7 separate regions of the Homo sapiens genome follow, and all the other regions are linked to region 1. Evidence: promoter capture Hi-C in 16 types of primary human blood cells and fetal thymus (Javierre and others, 2016). All regions are on one chromosome and are shown on one strand. Each heading gives the region's core, a stretch centred on a gene start or on the middle of the fragment in contact. The rest is flanking DNA. Distances are from core to core; before and after follow the strand shown.

Evidence for each region. The method cuts DNA at HindIII sites, captures the fragments that hold promoters and counts their contacts. A CHiCAGO score of 5 or more calls a contact.
Region 2: the fragment with the promoter of MRPS9-AS1 here is called in contact with the fragment with the promoter of SLC67A2 in region 1 in 1 of 17 cell types (M2 macrophages); the score reaches 6.5 in M2 macrophages.
Region 3: a fragment that was not itself captured here is called in contact with the fragment with the promoter of SLC67A2 in region 1 in 1 of 17 cell types (M2 macrophages); the score reaches 8.6 in M2 macrophages.
Region 4: a contact is called between a fragment that was not itself captured here and the fragment with the promoter of SLC67A2 in region 1, in 1 of 17 cell types (M2 macrophages). The highest score is 8.6, in M2 macrophages.
Region 5: a fragment that was not itself captured here is called in contact with the fragment with the promoter of SLC67A2 in region 1 in 1 of 17 cell types (total B cells); the score reaches 5.4 in total B cells.
Region 6: a fragment that was not itself captured here is called in contact with the fragment with the promoter of SLC67A2 in region 1 in 5 of 17 cell types (total B cells, M0 macrophages, M1 macrophages and 2 more); the score reaches 13.6 in total B cells.
Region 7: a contact is called between a fragment that was not itself captured here and the fragment with the promoter of SLC67A2 in region 1, in 2 of 17 cell types (M0 macrophages and M2 macrophages). The highest score is 7.1, in M0 macrophages.

Annotation. Positions count from the first base shown.
Region 1 is chr2:102,735,339-102,738,244 of GRCh38, reverse strand. SLC67A2 (solute carrier family 67 member 2) reads left to right here and starts at 1,357. Exons shown (of 6, transcript NM_032718.5): 1 at 1,357-1,599. The coding sequence starts at 1,435. It also overlaps a transcript of TMEM182 not described here. RefSeq lists a silencer at 1,241-1,450. The HindIII fragment of the contact is 937 bases long and covers 1,011-1,947 here.
Region 2 is chr2:105,101,483-105,104,388 of GRCh38, reverse strand. It overlaps MRPS9-AS1 (MRPS9 antisense RNA 1), which reads left to right and starts at 1,445. Exons shown (of 4, transcript NR_110227.1): 1 at 1,445-1,553. It overlaps LOC105373527 (a long non-coding RNA gene), which reads right to left and starts at 2,632. Exons shown (of 3, transcript XR_923138.3): 1 at 1-2,632. RefSeq lists enhancers at 1-27, 28-889. The HindIII fragment of the contact is 13,539 bases long and covers 1-2,906 here.
Region 3 is chr2:105,077,633-105,080,538 of GRCh38, reverse strand. It overlaps MRPS9 (mitochondrial ribosomal protein S9), which reads right to left. Exons shown (of 11, transcript NM_182640.3): 5 at 477-556. Among named protein-coding and RNA genes, the nearest start is that of MRPS9-AS1, 24 kb to the left of the region's middle. The HindIII fragment of the contact is 1,296 bases long and covers 839-2,134 here.
Region 4 is chr2:105,056,297-105,059,202 of GRCh38, reverse strand. All of the region lies in intron 2 of MRPS9 (mitochondrial ribosomal protein S9), which reads right to left. Among named protein-coding and RNA genes, the nearest start is that of MRPS9-AS2, 19 kb to the right of the region's middle. The HindIII fragment of the contact is 3,624 bases long and covers 1-2,906 here.
Region 5 is chr2:104,978,735-104,981,640 of GRCh38, reverse strand. The region is part of intron 1 of MRPS9-AS2 (MRPS9 antisense RNA 2); the gene reads left to right. Among named protein-coding and RNA genes, the nearest start is that of MRPS9, 58 kb to the left of the region's middle. The HindIII fragment of the contact is 1,673 bases long and covers 713-2,385 here.
Region 6 is chr2:104,865,149-104,868,054 of GRCh38, reverse strand. LOC124908045 reads left to right here and starts at 854. Exons shown (of 2, transcript XM_047446880.1): 1 at 854-1,627; 2 at 2,440-2,906. It overlaps LINC01159 (long intergenic non-protein coding RNA 1159), which reads left to right. Exons shown (of 2, transcript NR_110373.1): 2 at 1-2,558. It also overlaps a transcript of POU3F3 not described here. RefSeq lists a silencer at 210-504. The HindIII fragment of the contact is 270 bases long and covers 1,290-1,559 here.
Region 7 is chr2:104,815,911-104,818,816 of GRCh38, reverse strand. All of the region lies in intron 1 of PANTR1 (POU3F3 adjacent non-coding transcript 1), which reads left to right. Among named protein-coding and RNA genes, the nearest start is that of PANTR1, 34 kb to the left of the region's middle. The HindIII fragment of the contact is 9,510 bases long and covers 1-2,906 here.

The DNA.
Region 1 (2,906 bases), core at 108-2,607:
CATGCTAAAATTTCACCCTAGCTATGTATTTAGTAGCCACAGTGAGTGGTTTTAATGGGTTAACATGAGCAGCCCTTTCAAGGCGCCTTTCCCAGATGAGTTACTCACAAAATTTCAAGCACAAAAAGACTAGTTTCCTCAGCTATAGGAGAGCAAACTAGTTCTCCTGCAAAGGAGTCTCAGAATAACTTGGGGGTTCACGATTGACAGTTTCACCTGGATTCAATTATATGTCTTAATTCTAAGTATCAGTATTCCACTTCTCCCTATTCAGTGCCACCTCCCATGAGAAACTTTGCAACACTGAATTTAACAGATCTCAGAATTAGCAACCTACACAAGTAAATTGAGATTTTGAGCAAAATCTCAGTAAAATGTCAGAGTCTTCTTGATCCCACAGTGAAAGAGGAATAAATAACAAGTTCTAAAGAAAAGAGGGGCTAGTCACTATTGTTAACATTTATTACTTACCATGTGTCATGGGCTTTGCTAAGTAATTTAAAGGCATCTTTTGGTGTCATGCACTCACTTAATTCCTTTCACTGCACTCAGAATAAACCCCAAATCTCTGTTATGGCCTTCTGGGTCCTAAATGGTCTGCACTCCTGCTGACCTCTCAGTTTGATGAGGAAGTTTCAGCCACACATATCTTCTTTCCACTCTTCTCAGCTTACATGTCACCTCCTCCAAACTGCTTTTCTAAAGTAGCTCACTCCCCACCTCATTACTTTCCACATCAAGACCGTGCTTCTTTATATTATCACCATATTATTTTACTTATTTTATGCTTTTTCATTGCATGTTTAGTATTTTTATTTATGTTTATTTACTGCGTGCTTATTATTTTTACTCCATGAGACTGTAATCTCAACTCAGGCATAGACCATCTATGGTTTGTTCACATTGCACTGCACCAGAAAGGATCTTAAGAAGCATGTGTAGAATTCTCACACCTCTAGAAGTTGGACTACATTATTTCCTACTGCTTTTTAAATAGGCAAACGAAAGCTTGGAGAGCCACGTTAACGTATCCTAGGTCTGTCACAACCAACTGGTGGCCAGGGTCTGTGGATCTTCAAGCTGGAGTTGGTCACCTCCTAGCACAACTCCATAGGAGGAAGTGAAGCTCAATACAATTCCCTCCTGTCCTCCAACGATAGGGGCAGCAGGGTCTGTACCCAGAGGAAACAAAGAGCATCATCATTATCATCACAAACTGGTGTGTGCTTACCGTATTGATGATGTGCCCAGTCCCCACCTTGCCTGAGACCAGAACTCCCAGCCAGCACCGGCCACGCACCCGCGGAGCTGCCAGGTAGCACCCGCCCCCTCTCTCTGCGCAGGCGCGCGCCTCCTGCTTCCGCTCGGGGCGGGGCTGGGCTCCCGGGGTAGGTCCGCGGCTGCTGCTGCGTCCGACCCCCGGCCGGCGCGGGTATGGAGCTTGGGGGTCACTGGGACATGAACTCGGCCCCGAGGCTGGTCTCGGAGACCGCAGAGCGGAAACAGGAGCAGAAGACAGGAACCGAGGCGGAGGCTGCCGACTCCGGTGCCGTCGGAGCCCGCCGCTTCCTGCTCTGTCTCTACTTGGTGGGCTTCTTGGTGAGTGCGAGCGTGGGGGCTGGGAGCAAGTGCTGACTGTGTTCGGGCCTGGGGACCCAGGCGGTTCTTGGAGCTTCCGGGGAGCTCCCAGGGAGTGGGAACCCGCAGTCCGCCTGGTGAGTGCCTCACTACCTATCAAGCTCTCCTCTTGCCCTATCACCCACTTCAGTCTGCATCTGGCCACACTGCTTTATTGCCCCTCGCGCTTTCTCTTGCACCCCGTTCGCGGAACGTCTTCCCTTCCCTGCCTTTTGAGAAGCCCTGGTACCAACCTCAGGTGTGACCAGGTGTTAAATGCTGTGGCAGGTGCAGCTTTTGCAGGGCGGAGAACAGGGGTGTGGGCAAGCTTGGAAAAGCCCAGCTGCTGTGCGGCTGCTGGTGAGGTAGGGACACGCAAGCCTTTTTACCAGAACAGGCAGGGGAGGCCGCTCTTGACCCCGCTTGGACAGATTTAGGCACATTTTCACTAGGATTCTTGGTTGACTTAAATATTAAAAAATGCAGATCAGAGTGAATTTTACCCATCTGCCTTTCGACAAACTGCGCATTGCACAGCGTAGGTTTGGTTTCATCATGATGTGTGTGCCTGTGGTTTGCTTTTTTACCAGACCAGGCTGGAGAAGCCGCTGTTGATGACCCCACTTGTACAGAATTGGGTGCATTTTCACTAGAGCTCTCGGTTGACTTGAATGTTTAAAAATGCAGATCAGAGTGAATTGTACCCATCTACCTTTGGACAAAGGGTGTGCATTGCACAATGGCGGTTTGGTTTCATCGTGTGTGTGTGTGTGTGTGTGTGCGCGCGCGCGTGTCCTGGTTTGCTCCCTGAGTGCTAATTTCCCACGTAGAATGGAAAGTTTAGTAAGCTGATTCATGGCATTTCTGAACACCTGCCATGTGGCAGGTGCTGCGGAGCTTCACTATTGTAATCCACAGTTCTGCCACAGAAGAATTCAGTCTTACAAGTAAGCTGATGTTGGTAGTTTCTGGGCCATTATCTGCAAGAACCCTAGATCCACCTCTGCACTCCTCCCTTTCCAAGGCTAGGCCTGATTCAGCCCTGAGTGTGAGCTAATCCAGTATCTTGAGGGTAAGGAAGCTGCGATAAGTGTCAATGGGAGAAGGCTGCCTTTGAGGCCTTGAAGATAGTATCTGATGGCACTGGGCCCTGGCAGGGAGTCATCGTTTTCTGCCCAGATGCAGATCAAGACCACCACTTCTCCCAGTTTCATGCACTCTCCATGCCACCACCTCCATGCAAGGCGTTCAGTTGGTAGCAACTCTATGTTGAGTTAATAGTTAAGATC
Region 2 (2,906 bases), core at 196-2,695, 2.4 Mb before region 1:
GGTTCTAGCTTGGTTGGAGAGCATAGTATAGTGCTTACTAATCAACACCCATCCATTAGGATCTGGCTGACATCCACCTCTCCCATCAAGTCTTCTGACTGTACCAATGCAGTCTTCTCTCCTTTCACAGACGGTTTTAGCACAGGCTGTGTGCCTGGCTTGCATGCCGTCATAGCCCGCCTGGTATTCTTCCACAGTGGTTCAGAGCACTGGCTCTGGAGCCGGGATTCTAGGTTCCAACCTGGCTTGGGCACTCACTAGCTCTAGGACTTTGGGCAAGTTATTGAACCTCTCTGAGCACTAATTTTCTCAATATCTACCTCATAGGGTTGGCTGAGAGGATCGAATGCGTTACTTGTATTTAGAACAGTATCTGGAACAGAATAGGAGCTACAGAAGCATTAGCTCTCACTGTCGCCTTAAGGCAATAATCTTGTCAAATGCCTATTAAAAAAAAATAGCCACTAGAGAGCTCTTCCCAATGTATGCACACAGTGTGTGTCAAAAATACTTCCCAACAGGTATTTCCCACAAAGGTGTGGGATGTCTGAGAAGCTCAGTGCTCCTGTGGTTAACAAACCTGGTGACAAAGGAGACTGTGTCAAGCCTGAACAAAGGAACAAGAGCTCCGATATACTTTAATCCTCTTCCCTGGAGGCCTCACATCAACACTGTCCACAGTCTAGTTCCTATTACAGCTGGAATGGAGCAGATGGCCGGTGGTTTTACACTTATCTTACTTGATCGTCACACAAGGGCAGATGGGGCTGGTAGGGCAGAAAATGACCCCAATTTGACTCAAAGAAATTGAGACTCAAGGGGTACAGTGGCCTGCGAGGTTACAAGCCAGTATTTCTTCCAGACCTCACGGGGAAAGGCACCTGTAACATTCGCCTCTCCTGGAGGCCGCTTCTTGGTCATCACTGACGTCCCTGACCGCTGTGCCTGGCTTGCTGTCTTCCTATCACCGCTCACCACCCCCTTTGCTGGCTCTTCCCTCCTTCCTACTTTAAACTTGATGGCTGTTTCTCCACTTGAGCCTTGGCCTTCTCCCTGCCCAATCCTCCGTGCTGATCCAGCCCACGTTTCAAATTCCCCTTCCACGCAGCAGCCTCCCAAATCTGTCAGCAGGCTGACCCGTCGCCTGAGTCACAGTCCAATTATTTCAAGCATCTCATATGAGGTGGCCCCGAACACCTGAAACCCGAGCCGACCCCTCTGGTGTCTCCTCCTCCTCCCATCAACTTTTCTTCCTGTCTTCCTGGCTCTTTGCATTCCCAGCAGCCTGTGGATCTCATACCGAATACCCGCCCCCAGCTCTCCTGCAGCCAATCAGCTATCGCACTTGGTCCAGGTGAGAGTGGCAACGTTTCTCACACCTACTTCCTTTCTGTTCCCTGCACTGGGTCCCATCCCCTCCATGTACAATAGCTGCCTGGCAGGTCTCTTCCTTCTAGCAACTCCCTGCTCCTGCAGTCCCTCCGTGACCTTCCTGATGGGGAGATCCTCAAGACTTTTCCCATGAGCTCGGGGTTCCTGAGGCCCAGAAGAAGGTGAGAGTTAAGGCTCCGATTTTGTTGTTATATTATGCACTATGACTCTACTTAATATATATATACATATATTTTAAAGGTTGCTAAAATATAGTTTAAAAACACAGTTCTAATTTCAACCCTCATCTGTTCTCTCAAAGGAGAAAAAAAGGCTGATTCCCCTTTGGCAGTGCAGGAACATCACCATGAATTTCAGACCCTCCACAAATCCACCTCAGCCTCCTTCCCAGCTGGTTTCCGCAGGGACCTCGTCCCTCCCCAGCAATGCCCTGGCCCGCCTGGCTTCACTCCCTGCACATTTCCTGAACTTTCCTTCCTCCTTTCTCGCCATTTTCTCCATCTGTACTCCCACCCTCTCCTTTCATGGCCTCTTTTTTCCCCACCACCTCCTCCTCAGAGTGCTACTGTCCTCAGGGCCCCCTTCCTCAGCTCTCCTCCTGGCACTGTACGAGCAGCACTCCAGGTCTCCCGTTAGACTTGAGGACTTTGTCTCCTCCACGATACCAACAGTAGCTGATGCAGGGCCAGATGGCATATACTTCAGGCAGCTCTGCACTGCCCCAGGACACCAGGTATGGCAAGAGCTCAGCAAGCGGGCGATCCGTGCCGGCAGGGCTGCCCGCCATCCCATCTCAGCACACCCACGCCACGTGGGGTAACCACTTGTCACTTCTCTCTTGTCAAAATGGTAAAAAGTATACTCCAACAGATACAGGCTAAATCAACACCACCGACCAAAACCTGCCACAGACAATTTCACTAGAGAATGACCGCCACACAGAAAAAACCCCAGAAAGTATTTTCTACAGTTTCATCTGAAATGAAAAGGGCACTGGGTACCGCAGGGTACTGGGTACTCACTCTCACTTGTTCATCACCATGTTATTTTATTTTACCTCATAAAGGATTTGATGTGTATATACATGTCTCAGAACTTATTCAAGATTATTTTAAAAAGACACTTATGAAGAAATCAGTGGCATACAACTCTTTATATAAAGGATAATTGAGCATTGAGGGTCTAATTCTTGAAGCAATATTTTTACTTAAAATAACTGCATTGAAATGGATTTTTTTTTTTTTTTTTTGAGACAGGATCTGACTGTTACCCAGGCTGGAGTGCAGTGGCACAATCTCGACTTACTGCAGCCTCTGCCTCCTGGGTTCCAGCGATTCTCCCACCTCAGCCTCCCGAGTAGCTGGCACTATTGGCGCATGCCACCACACCCGGCTAATTTTTGTATTTTTTGGTAGAGATGGGGTTTCACCATGTTGGCCAGGCTGGTCTCAAACTCCTGGCCTCAAGTGATCCACCTGCCTCAGCCTCCCAAAGTGCTGGGATTACAGGCGTGA
Region 3 (2,906 bases), core at 237-2,736, 2.3 Mb before region 1:
ATTTCTTAGGTTGTTTTGGGGCCCAAATTCTAGGCTCATACACTGCATTAACCTATGAAAGGCAAAAATTATATATATATAAAACAACAAAAAATGAGAAATAACCATTTGATTCTTTTTCAAGGCAAATGCCTCACAGCCCCCGACAGCATCATACACTTGGCCTCCTCCTTCTTTACCCTGGAAGCACATGTACACACTATAATTGAGTTGAACATCTATCTTGGAACATGATTTCAATTTCTAAGTAAAAGCATTTTAAAGACAAACCATTCTGATATAAACTCTATAAAGTTCACCTTTAGCAAAAATGAATTACTATAAATCATTTCATCAACACACTGTCCTACCTCTAGAAGTCTTATTTTTGTCAATTATAAAATACTAGGTAAATTCTGAAGCTGCGAACAGTATCCAGTATAATTAGTTTTGTAGCTTACAGCTCATATTATTTATCATAAATGCAATATACTTACATGCATTAATGAATAGTATGACTGTTTGCCAGTATAGAAGAGATAGTGAAATGGACGGCCATCTTCTCCCCACTGGATTGCTGATTTAAAAAAGCCAGATGAAAGCAAATAAAAATATACACAGAGACAGACCAAATAGCTGCATTTAACCACAGTTATGAGACACATTTATAATTGAGTAATAAAAAATACAAAAAAATCACCAACATTTAGAATTTTAATATTTAGTTTAGCATATTTATATGCAAATATTTAGGATATTAAATATTTCATACCATTAACATAAAACAATGTTTACATTTAATTTAAAAATTACTAAATATTTCACTATGAGAATTTCTGTATTGTTTCAAATAAAAGCTTATAAAATAGCCCAAATCATCTTGTTAGAATAAAAAAATTTAGGTTTGGCCATAAACATAACTCCCTCCCATATTTTTAAAAGGGAAAACTGATAAAGTAAAAAAATGCAGTGCATTCAGAGAATCTAAAACAGGTAAACAAATGAAAACTAAAGAATGTATTTTTCTATGCTACATCATTTGTTTCAACCCAGTGGTCATCAACCTCCGAGAGTTTAAAACATCAACAACAGAAAAGCCTCAAAAAGGTGTTGGGTGTAATTCCTTCTGAAATACAGATGGGCATTCATATCTAACTAACCACCACCAAGCAAACTGAGAAGTGGTGTTAGTCTAAGAAACAAGACGAATGCTAACTCTGTGTCCTTTGCGCATACTATCTCTGTTGTATGCTAACTCTGTGTCCTTTGCGCATACTATCTCTGTTGTTTCTCTGAAGCAGATTATACTTCCTGGTCCATTACAGAAGTTGTAAACTATTTTCCCCCAGGCTGTCACTTGCCTTTTACTTTTACTTATGTTACCTTTCATAATCGAGAAGTTTAAAATATGTAAATAGTCAAATCTGTCGCTTTTCCTCTACGGCAGCATGACTTGTTTTTTCATGATTCATCCCATGAAGGAATCCTTTATAGGCATTTTCTCCCTAATTTCCGCCCCCGCATGAAATGTTAATACCACAGATACACTACACATCTGCTGAAGTATACTGTGGCCCACTGGAGGGCCACAAACCATTGTAACAGTTAGGTTTCCCCACCCCCGTGAACCAGTCTTTGCCCCCACTGAGGAAACATGCTTTAAGGCTTTGGGCTCTCTAAAACTATTTTCTTGTATTTCTTCTGGAATTTTTATTTTATTTTCATGTTCAAATATTTAATCTATCTGGAATTTATGTTTGTGAGGCAGAAATCCAAGAACTATTTTGTTCAGTAAAGAGTCATTATCTCTCTACAGTTTTTTGAATAGTACATGCTTTTCTATTGAAATACCACCTGTATTATATGTAGGATGTCTTTCTTCTGAAACAAAGACCACATTTTCATAATAAATGCTAAAAAGAAAGTCTTGCTTGGGTATTTAGCTTGAAAAACCAAATTCTTATTTGCTAATGGCTTATGGTTGATTTCAGCACTTTTCCAAAATCATTGTCATAGACTTCATGAATCAAATCCGGCATATTTTCTAATATTTTTCTTTTCTTATGCAATTGATTTTCACTGTATGGTTAGTCCGTCAGAAAGTGATAAAAAATGACAAACATCATGGCTGCAGACAAGACTCTACTGGTAAGCTTGGAGAGATGCTTGAGTTGAGTCTCATATCATGGGATTGATTTCATTACATATGTGAATGTATACACACACACACACACACACACACACTTGACTTCACCGAACCTAAGGTATCACAGATTTTAAGATGCCTCATCATGTATTTTATATATCACAAAGAAAGAGAAAAAATACTGTCAAACCATGATATGTATCATAGTTTACAAAAATTGTGAAGTGTTCCCTGCTGTCAGACATTAAAATTTGAAAAAAAAAAAAAAAAAAGTCTTAGAATTAACTGAATAAGGCACAAACACGTGCTGCCAGGACTTTGCTCATTGGTCTGTCTACTCTGCGTCAGTAACCACCATTTTAATTAGCAGAGCTTTTTGCTGGGTTTTGATACCAGGTATGATGAGCTTACTTCATTACTTAAAACAATTTTTTTTCCCACTGCTTCTTGCACAACTAGACTTGACAAGTTTCTCCCAAAAGTTGTGCCAAAACTTTAAGTAAAGTTATATTCAATTTATCAATAATTTAGAAAGCAGCAACTCTGGAATATTGTCTTCCCTTAGAGAACCATGGAATTTTTCCAACTGTTCAGATTTTCACTTCTGATCTTTAACTGAGTTATCATAATTTTCTATATAAATCTCATATATTTTGCAAGTCTTATTTGTGTATTTTAGTTTCTGTTTCTCTTGATACTGCCCTCCCCTATTCAGTTATCTATAATAAAAACATAATTTTACACAAGTAACACATACTTCCCAGATCACATGTTAAAATTC
Region 4 (2,906 bases), core at 254-2,753, 2.3 Mb before region 1:
ATTCTAAAATTGGTATGAAATTTAACTTGGCAAAGTTGTTAGGTGTTTCAAACTAACGTTACACTTTAAGAAATTGTTACACATATAATTTAGGTTCAATGGTTGGTTGGTCACCAAAAAAAAAAAAAAACCCCACAGAACAAAAGCAAAAAACCATGCTTTTTCCAAAAGAAAAAATGGAGCATATATTTAGTAAGTACAGAACTCTTTAGAAACTCATTAAACTGCCGGGCGCAGTGGCTCACGCCTGTAATCCCAGCACTTTGGGAGGCCGAGGTGGGTGGATCACAAGGTCAGGGGTTCGAGACCAGCCTGACCAACATGGTGAAACCCTGTCTCTACTAAAAATACAAAAATTAGCTGAGCATGGTGGTGGGCACCTGTAATCCCAGCTACTCAGGAGGCTGAGGCAGGAGAATTGCTTGAACCTGGGAGGCGGAGGTTGCAGTGAGCCAAGATCGTGCCACTGCACGATCTGTTGCCTGGGCAACAGAGAGAGACTCTGTCTCGAAAAAAAAAAAAAAGAAACTCATTAAACTACAGCATGTCATCTATACTTAATGTGAATCCAAAACAAAAAGTGCTGAGAGAAAAGAAAGAAAAAGTAAGAATGCAAATTTTAAAAATTTAATCCAAATAAGAAATGGAGTAAGGTAATCCTCATTAGTAAACATGTTTCTTCCATTTTTAGGTTTTAACTAGAATACTGATATTCAACAGTTCCCTAAAATGAAGGCAAAGTATTTGAGTATGTTCTTAGACTTAAATCAAAGTATGAAAGAATTGCAGACTCAACCCAGAAGCACTGGGTCAGGAATGCAATCTCTATTAATTAGGCATCCCAGCTGGGCAGTGGGTTTGCAGCTGTTAACTTGATCAATGACTTACCTAAATGTCATCTCTACTGATTCGCTTATAAATTACCAGCAAGTGAGACTAATGTACAGGTGCTAATTTATTTAAACTGTTCTCTACAGTTCTACATAGCTCTATAAACTGCATCTGGCACCTAATGTTAGCTGTCAGTTGTACTTAGACATGCCTGTCCTAACGACTCTGTTCATTAGAAGTGAGCACAAATTATGAAATATTGTGAAAAATGATACATCAAATGGAATGGGCACAGCAAATCAATTAGAGAAACTTCATACAGCATATTCACACTTAGGAGAATAAAACATTCTGGTTTCAGAATGAGGTCTATAATACCAATTAAAAAGTAATTGGTAGACTTCAGGAGTGCTATATATCAATTTGCTGGCTTTTTTCCTGAAATTCTATAGTAATGTAGAACTTAACTTTTAATTCCCAAATAAAGACATTAGTAAACGCAAGTGCAAGTCTGTATTCATAATATTCAATATAACAGAAAGGTCTCCCAACTAAACTTTATAACAACTACATGCTTCAATGGAAAAGGAAAATGCAAATATCAGTGGTCCTCAACTTTTTGGTGTTTACAGTATGATTTTGAGTAAAAGAATTTTTGATGGTACACATGACAGGATTAAGAAACTTCACTAAACAGGTTAGCAATCATTGTTACCCCACGTCTGCTCTAGCACAAGGAGATGTTACAAGGTCTATAAAGTTCCATTGGCACTTGCTGCACTCCTCACCTAGCTGTTCTTTAGTCTTGGGGTCAATAAGGAAAACTGTTTCTGCTGCCTCTGTTACACACTCATGGGCTTAGTTCTTCAGTTTCCATACACACCAAATTTTCTTTACACTAAACAACAAGACTCACTCAGCTCAAGGTTCCAACTGACAGATTCCTCCTAACAGTTATGTATACTGTTAACAGCCAAAAAAAAATTTTTACACACTGATCAACATTTGGCAGTAACCTGTGAAAGACTGATGAAACAGGAGTTGAGGATAACAGCATTAAGGTCTATTTGCTAAATATTTAGCCTGCATTTAAAGTACTTTCAGCATAACACCATATACACTACTAATTTTGTTAGAGGCTACCCGTTTTTCCTCCTGTTAGATCTTCTAAAGGTTATCAGTAGCACCATCATGGTTCAGTGGGTAAGAACAATAGGTAGTTTATTTTGTTTCAATATAATTTAAGAAACTGGGCAAAAATCAAACTACTTTGAAATGAAGAGATTCTATACCTGCCAATTACTAATTCCTTTTTAGTTATAATACTTTACTTTTTCACCAATAAGATAATATTTTTCTTGTAAACTTAATAAAAAGGTCGAGCACCAATTTGAGCTAATTCTGGAAAAAAAAATTCTGAAATATATAGAATCCTGTAGCCTTAATAATGATAAATCTTCTAAGTGATAAAACTTTAAAATAAGTACCACTAGTGACAAGCAGAATTATTTTTATTAAAAAATTTTATCCATCTTATTCCTTTTTACCAACTCACATTGTACTCTTTAATAAACCTTATTAAGGAAGCACTAGTATATTACATTAGCTAGGTGTAATTTTCACACATAAATTATATATGCTGTATTCAGCAAGGCCAGATTTCTATTCAAACTTAACCCTCTGAAGTAAAGTTGTAAAACTGGAAATCAATGAAAAAGACCTATAAAGAACTGCAATAGCTGACATAAATTCATGAATTTTACTTACTAGGAGGGGCACGTAGGGCCTCATTCAGAGTCCAATGGCTTTTAGTTTTAATTCACACACTTAACGAGTTTAGTTATGCCAGAAGGTTGGAAGACAGGTGAGGGTGGCTAGAGGCAGACACGTAGACATAAGACATCCTGACAGCAAGGGAGATGACAAGAATCAGTAATACAGCATAGCTGAGCCATTCACCACAGGGACAGTTGTGCTCTACAAGCCACAGTCAGGGGCTAACAAACATACTAAAAAGGAAAATACTAAAGCACTGTAAGGTTAAATTATACTCACTATATCCTACTAAATAAGGT
Region 5 (2,906 bases), core at 300-2,799, 2.2 Mb before region 1:
CCACCTAGTTTATGTTATTTTGCTCTAGTAGCCTGAATGGACTAAGACAGTGAGGATGATGCATGCAAATGTAATCCTTCCTTATCTAGTGTAAAATATTCTCTACAGCATCTACCTTAGCTAGAATATTTGAAAATGAGAAATGAAATATTCATAATATAAAGCCTACAGCCCTGAATTTTAAAATATTTTGGCATATTTTGGGAACTTAACCAATGAGATGAATTTGCTGAAAATCAGCATTTCAGTGTTTATTGAGTCCATGGGAAGGGAAGCCCCTCCACTTATTCCATCATCCGCTGGAACGCATGCTCCATACAGCAAGGGCAGGGCATGCCTGGTTAGCCAAAATTGTATCTGGCACTTGGATGACTCCCCCTTAAAGTGGCTAAGCTTTTCTCAATTCTGGGACAAAATCCCTGTCCTATGACCACACTACACATAGACCACATATGTGCTGGGAAGTAAAATTTTAATGGCTCTAAAATTGTTCAGGAGGTTGGAAAAGGAAAAGAACGTTAATCAAACAATATTCTCTTTACTTATAGAAACTAGTGTTGGAGGAACCTGGGCCCAAACATAGGTCCTCCCATGGTGTTAAAGGTAGAGACCAGATGAATGAGTCCTTAGTCTGACAGATCACCGCAGTGAATTTCAGAGTGTGGAAAGGCAGGCCTGGTGCTTAGTTTAGGGTCCACTGCGGTGCAAAGCTTATCTGAGGCAGAGGATGAACTAGTGACTTTGGATGTCAGCAGCCAGCAGGTAGTGAGAGAGAAAAGGGCACCCGAGAGGGAAAGTGGCTTGAAAGATGGCAACAAATTGGGCCCAAAGGGTCAAAATTGGCTAACAAAAATGTCAGGGGATGGCAATGGCTTTTGAGGATAGTTATGTCTAATAACATTTTATTGCACCGCTAATTCATTCAGCAGACCTTTATTGAGTATGTATTATTTGTCAGGCCCTGTGTTAGGCACAAGGAATACAACAGCTAGTTACAAAAAGAAAAATCCAATATTCCTACTTTCCTGGGGCTTACTTTCTAGAGGGGAGCAGGATATTAACTAAATAAGCACACTTGGATTTTAAGTTATGATTAGGATCTGAAAAGAAATGAACAATGTGAGGACCTTCTCTAGGCTGGGGAAAAGGGAAGGGGAGAGCAAGGCAGGGATCTTCTGAGGAAGTGACTCTTGAGCCCAGGAGCTCAGGTATCTCCCTGAGCTCTTTGGGAATCCACATTCCCAAATGTGGATTCACCTCTTCACGTGGAATGAAATGGTTCCGACAAGATTAGCAGGACACAATAAACAAAGCATTCCTTGAAATATATTTGTTTGTCCTCACCAAGCAAAGATTTCCAGTGGACTTTTAGTAGGTTTCCTAATATTCCTTCTTGCACTAACACACAGCGTTGTGGTGCCAAGCCTCTGCTCTGCTGGTTCCTCCACTTGGAAGCCCTCTGGTAGACATTTCTATCACATGTCCGGCTCTTTACTGTTTTCCGAGGTCCAGTTAAAACACAATCCCTTAATTCAGACAGCTTTCCTGACTGGTCTCAAGAGAAGCACTCTCTCCTGCTCTGAACCCTGTCCTGTTTTGCTGGTTTTTCACGTACGTCACCTAACATTTCCTGCCTCACATCAGACTCATTTGTGTACACTCAGCTCCTTGCTGCCTGGAATGTAGCCTCCCTGATGGAGAAGCCGTGCTCTCTGGGTATCTCCCGCAAGTTCTGGTGTCATGATTTATACACATCATTGTGGGTGCTCAGAAGTTATTTCTAGAAGGATTTCCTTGGAGTTTAGGTCATGGATGAAGAAAAGACCATAATGGGAGAGGCTCTTAGAGCTTCTAACTTCTATCTCAGACTGGCTCCATGCTCAGACGATTTGGTCTCCGTTCTTCATTGGTAGGGAACATTAGGCCATTAGGCAAAGGAAGGGACCTGCTATGTGTGTTTTTCTTTCTTTCTTTCTTTTCTTTCTTTTCTTTCTTTCTTTCCTTCCTTCCTTCCTTCCTTCCTTCCTTCCTTTCTTTCTTTCTTTCTTTCTTTCTTTCTTTCTTTCTTTCTTTCTTTCTTTCTTTCTTTCTTTCTTTCTTTCTTTCTTTCTTTCTTTTCTTTCTTTTCTTTCTTTTCTTTCTTTCACTCCTGAGCCCAGGGATGAAGAATGAGCAGGAGTTGTATATGCAAGACATGGGGAAGAGAACATTTCAGAGAGAGGCAACAAGAAAGAGCAGCAGGCACCAGCGAGAGCAGAGTGAACAAGGAGGATGGCACCAACTGAACCTATTGGGCTACCCAGAGATGAGATCACAGAGGGCCTTGTAATTTTTGCTAACCAATTTTTTATTTTACTGTAAGTGAAATGGAAACTTCTGAAAGCTTTTCGATAAGGAAAGGGCATGGCCCCATTTGAGTTCCTAAAGACTAACTCTGCCTGCTTTTTGGAGAATAGATTGAAAGGGGATAGGAATAGGATTGGAAAGACCAGCATGATGGTTAATTTTATGTGTCCACTTGACTGGGCTAAGGAATAGCCAGATAGCTGGTAGTATATCATTTGGGGGTGTACCAGTGAGGGTGTTTCCAGAAGAGATTAGCATTTGAATCCACAGACGGAGCAACAAAGATTTGTTCTCACCAATGTGGATGGGCATCATCCAACCCATTCAGAGCCTGAACAAAACAAAAACACATTCCAAATCACTCTTTTTTTGAGGTGAGACATCCAGCTTCTTCTGTCCTCAGAAACAAGAGATCCTGGTTTGGGGGCCTTCAGATTCAGACTGGGGCTTACACCACTGACTCTCCTGCTTCTCAGGACTTGGGCTTAAATTGGAACTGCACCACCAGCTTTCCTGGTTCTCTAATTTGCAAATGGCAGATCGTGGGACTTCTCAACCCC
Region 6 (2,906 bases), core at 175-2,674, 2.1 Mb before region 1:
GGGCGCCAATCCTTTCCCAACAATTCCTACCCACCAGCTGGAGGTCGGGGCCCAGGGTTACCCCAGAGTTCTATGGTGGCAGGGGGCGCCGAGTAGAGGGGCGGGAGGAGCTGGGTCCTCGGGAACCAAAGGGGACCTCAGCGGGGGCGGAGTGCGCAGCCTTGGCTGCTGGGAAATGCCCAACTAGCCGCTGTGAGTGCCCACAGCGCGTCGTGGGGGCGTCCGTTCTGCAGCTCGGGTGACTCAGACGCCCTGCCAACCCCACCAGCTCCCGGCTTCTCGAACGCTCTTCTGATCGCCCAGCGGGGAGACTTCAGGGCCTGCCTCGTCAGGCCAGATTGCAGCCCGCGACCTTCCCGGATTAACCAAGGGCGGGGCCTGTTGCCCAGCAAGGCTGCTGCCTAACTGAGCCTCCCGGGGAACAGCCATGACCAAAGCCCCGCGGGCCCAGGCGCGGGCACCTACCCCTACCCGCTCAGGCCTGTGGGAGCGCAGGGGCAGAGGCCGAGACGCTGGACTTCCAGCCCCACACCTCTGACAACCCGGGCACGTCTGCGGAGCCCGGGGGAACAGTCAGCGGGCTCTGCGTCCCGGGAGCTGGGGACACGCCTGCAAGGTGTGTGATCCTTTAAAGATCCTTAGTACTAGTTTTGTAGGGAGCCTTTGTTATAGCTTTGTCAGCCTGCGCGCCTTCAGCAGCTCCCCCTCCCGGGCCCCTCGGTTCCCTCCGGGCTCGCCCCCAGCGGAGAGGGCCCGGCGCAGGGGATCTGCCCAGGATCAACTGCCCTCTTCCAGATCCCCTTCTGCGAGATTCTTTTCCTTTGGTTACAATCTCCCCTCCGTGCCTGGGGCAGATAAACACGGTTCGCCCCGCCTGCAGTATTGGGGCGATGCTGTCCTGGAAGAACGGGCTTTCTGAATGTGACCTCGGGATGCTGCAGCGGCGCAATGCTGCTACTGCTGAATGAGTAGCTCTCCTGCCACCGCAGGGCGACTGCGGTGGGCACAGCAGGGCGCACAGAGGAGGGGGTAATCTGCCCACCCAGGCTAAGGATTTGAGGGTTCTGACAAAAAAGAGCTGGTTGAGGATGACACAGTTGTGAACTAACCTGGCTCCTACTACCCCACAGGGCAGCCAGGTCCCAGTAGTCTTGGGTACCACTGCCCCCACCATACCACCATTGTAAAGTATGGACTCCTGCTTAGCCAACGTGCAGCTCTAGGCAGGATCTCTGAAGGATGCTCTGGCACACAGATGGTGCAGGTATGACTTTACCTGCACACAAGCTTACATGTGCCCTGTCATATATGGCTACACGTTTCCCCATTTCCCCACAGTCTTCCTATTTAACTGGTCTTCAATCCTCCTTTCTAGGGCTTTCCGCCTGCACACAGTCATTTGGAGAAAATCAAGTGAGTGCACTTCTCCCCACAGAGGATTCTGTATGTTATGTAACACACTCACACTGGGATTCCTCAAGTTACCATTTTGCCCCAACTCAGCCAGCACTTGGTTTTCTGGCGGGGGTGTCAGGATGATGCAAATGGAGGTGGAAGCTTCATTCCCTGGGGGCTTTTATTCCCCTCCTTGAAGCCCCAGTTCAAGGCCCAGGAACAAAGGGGAAAGGTAACTGATCTCTCTTTTGGTCTTTCTCTCCCCTCACTTCCACCCCTTCACCTGCAGGCCCTCCTCTTTGATAAATAGAGGAAAGCCCGTGGGATCAGGTACATATGTAAATACTGCTGACCTCGGCCGCCCCTCCTCACCGAAAAGCAGAAAGCCCGTTTCAGGTGCAGGCTGCTCCGTGCCTTTGAGTGTCCACCACTTCTATTCCCCCAGACTGCTTGGGACTCAAGGCCACTCACTTAATACCCGTCTCTTGTTAAAAACATTCAGGACAACTATTAAATAGTTATTGGAAGAGTTAAAGACCTTCTTTCAGGAGTGAAACGTTTTTAAAGCTGTGCTTGGCATAAGTCTTTAAGGCGTACAAAGTAGAATCAGTAGACTTGCCTGAGCGATTTTGAAATTTGAAAGATTTCTCCCCATGAAATGGTAATTTAAAATAGTTTGTAGATGTTGTTTTGTTCTGTGATGGCTTTTTCACCATTGTCACCTAAAGATTCTCAAGACCAAGCTACTAAGACATTTCATTTGGTTAGTTTCTGGGTGATACTGTGCTTTCTGATTAGACCTATTTAATTTATTTTTAACTCTGCAGGAGAGTTTTCAACCTTGGAAATGTAAGTGAAACACAGACTCACCCTCCTTCTGAGACCTTGATAGGGGCAGAAAGGAACAAATCTGGCTAGCCCCCCTCACACCTGGAAGTTTCCCTGTCTAAACCTGGGTACAATGAGCGTGGTGGGTTTTGTCACCTTTTATTTTATTGCTGGCTCAAGGAAAATTCTTTGAAATGAACATCTATTCTATTTCAGTGTGCAATGTTCCAGCCGACTTAATGGGCTTGCCTTATGCGGAGAGGCAGTCCTGCAGGACAGAGCTAATGTGTGGTCTCCCAGGAAGCTCATCAGAACACCTCTTGTCCCTTTTCTTTAAAAGAAAAAAAATTTAAAAAGTTTTTGCTTCCATCTCAATGTCCATTCCATTATTTTGTAGCTACAATAAAGAAACATGGGCAGCAGTGATCATTCTTTTTGTCCTATGTAATCATGTCTAGTGTTAGGACCTTACAAAGCTCCAGACATACCTCAGGTGTATTCTGCACTTTTCATATTTATTCACTGCTCACTGGGTCACACAGATGATTCACACTTGATTCCACCTTCCTCTGGACAACTCTCCCTCAAACAACACCCCTCTATCAACTTATAGGGAAAGGAGATTCACTTAGAGAAAACTTCTTGAATTAAAGACCAGACTCAGTTTCGCCAGGTAACTAATC
Region 7 (2,906 bases), core at 234-2,733, 2.1 Mb before region 1:
AGCAATACACAAATGTATTGATCAAATGTGTGACCTGGTAGGGGAAGGGTCAGGAAGAATGGTCTCTACTGACAAATGAGCTGAGTACTGGGTGAAGGCTTGGGTAAGATTTGTTTGAGGAGGGATAGGGAGAGGCTTCTATACAGAAAGGGAAAGGAGCCTTTTGTCAAGAGATTTGTGACTTTGGGAAGGTCTCTGGAAATAGACAAGGTCAGAAGCAATGCAGGGGCTGGCAGCTGGAAATGAGAGCCAATTAGAAAGAGCAGGGAACAAGACAGGCCAGAGGAACTGCAGAAAATAAAAGAGACTGAGTGGGAGTAGGCGACATCTCAGATGTCCCAAAACCACCAACGGAGAAAAGAAAAAAACAGCAGTGCCACTTCTCTGAAGACTCACCAGTAGGCCAGTGTAACCAAGGCAGCAGGCGTGTTCAAGAACAAACAGGGAAACAGTGCCACTGAAGACAGGTGTGATCCCATGGCCACAGGACGTCCGCGCTTTCCAATGAGTCCCTGGAGGAACCACACCTGCAAAAGGCATGCAAAATAGATAATTACATAAAGACAAAATACGGCACTAAAATTCCCCCAGCATGTATATGATCCCACTTATGTAAAATGATATATAAGGTATGTGTAGTATATATAATATATATGCTATATATTAGAGATATATTTTATTTTACTTTTTAATTTTTTTTGAGGTGGAGTCTCGCTCTGTCACCCAGGCTGGAGTGCAAGGGCATGATCTCAACTCACTGCAACCTCTGCCTCCCAGATTCAAGCGATTTTCCTTCTCAGCCTCCGGAGTAGCTGGGATTACAGGCACGTGCACCACCACGCCCGGCTAATTTTTATATTTTTAGTAGAGACAGGGTTTCACCATGTTGGCCAGGATGGTCTCAAACTCCTGACTTCAGGTGATCCGCCCGCCTTGGCCTCCCAAAGTGCTGGGATTGCAGGCATGAGCCACCGTGCCTGGCTTATTCTTTATATATTATACATGGATATAGGCATATGCATGCATGCCCTTGGTGTTCTTGAGATAGTGGTAATGAAGTGGGATAGGAAGAAATAATTATATTTGCTTTTATTCACCTTTTTAAGTATTGTTTTGCTTGTTACAGTAAGTACATATTCTCTAGTTTGAAAATAAAGAAAAATTAAACGAATATAAACTATGCTGTGAGTGTTGCTTGCCATCATCCACTCTGCAGCACACAGGGTGGGGAATTCATGAGGTAATGGGAGCTAAATTTCTGGGCCGTCACTGGAGCTCAGGCTAACTCTGGCAGGGGAGTCCTAGGGGGACCACCTGACAGTCACCTCTCATGGCACCAGGCTTATCACCATCTTACATTTAGATAAGGGGACACTTAGGTGACAAGGGGAAGCCGTACCTCCTTGACAGGAAGGACCCTGACCAACGGGTGGGACATTTCTGTGGGCTGGGAGCAAACACAGGTCTTCCTGCCAGATCAGGTGAGGGTGGCCACCTCGCAGGGAGGAGGCACAGATTAATTGCAGGGGAAATAATTTGAGCTTGGGACCAGGCGCAGTGGCTCACGCCTGTAATCCCAGCACTTTGGGAGGCTGAGGCCGATGGATCACCTGAGGTCAGGAGTTTGAGACCAGCCTGGCCAACATGGCGAAACCCTACCTCTACTAAAAATACAAAAATCAGCTGAGCTTGGCGGTTTGTGCCTGTAATCCCAGCTCCTTTGGAGGCTGAGGCAGGAGAATCATTTGAACCCAGGAGGCAGAGGTTGCAATGAGCCAAGATCGCGCCACTGCACTCCAGTCTGGGTGACAGAGTGAGACTCTGTCTTAAAAAAAAAAAAAAAAAAGAATTTGAGCTTGGTAGAGGAGAGAAAAACTTTTCTTCTCCTTCAGTTCAAGGGCTGCCATTGCAGCAGGTGAAACAAAGCCCTGACTGCGTGGGGTTTTGTGTTGCTTTATATTAGGTGAGCTGCTTTGAGGCAAAACCCTGTTTCCTGTGTCCTTCATGGGCCAGGCACTGTGCCGGGGCTTGAAGTGCAGAAACAAGGCTGAGGTGACCTCTGCTCTTCTGAAGGTCACAGTCAAGCTGGGGAGACAGATGGTACAGGAGATCCCAGACCAACAGAGTATCGCCACGCGTGGCAATGATGGCTCCGCAGGAAACCCACTAGGCATGAGGGTGAAGATCAGGGCTAGGACCGCTTTGGACCGGAGGTGCTCTCTGACAGGTCTTTCTGAGCACAGGACATTTCAGGCAAGTCGAGGATGAAGCAGAGAGGCTGACAGTGAATAGCGGGATGCGTGTCCTGTTCATCTGCAGAGCCATGAGCTGGGCTGCTGGGTTAGGGTGCGGTGTGAGAGGATGGCTTCCTGTTCAGGAGTTGGACTTTCTCCCAAGTGCAAAGGCTAAGTAGTGTGCTCAGAAATCCAGTGATGGAGTGCCTCTGCCTCCACTCAGCGCCTAATACAAATGTGCTGAATGAGCAAAAAACAAATACAGTAGATGGATGTTGCATGCTCAGAAACATTCCATTTTATTTTATTTTTAAACTTTGGTTTCAATTTCTATTATATAAAAAGTCACTTCCATTTAGATTTGTTTTCACTGCAAGACCAAGCTACAGTGGGGAGAATGGGGTCTGGTGTTTAGCCACGTGCCTGCAGCTAGAGGGAAGCAGCTTGAGATGCCCTCCCACTGCCTGGACCTCATGAAGTGCTTTCACGAACCAATCCGTCCCCTTTGTCATCACCAGACACACTAGACTGAGCAGGTATTCATATTGTCTCCACTTTGAAAATAAGGATGCGGAGCCTGGGAGAATGGAAAAGACTTGGCAAGGTCTCTGGAACATGTGCCTGTGTTCTGGTGAGCTTTCTGTGAGCCCAAGGCAAATGGTGGCCACATTC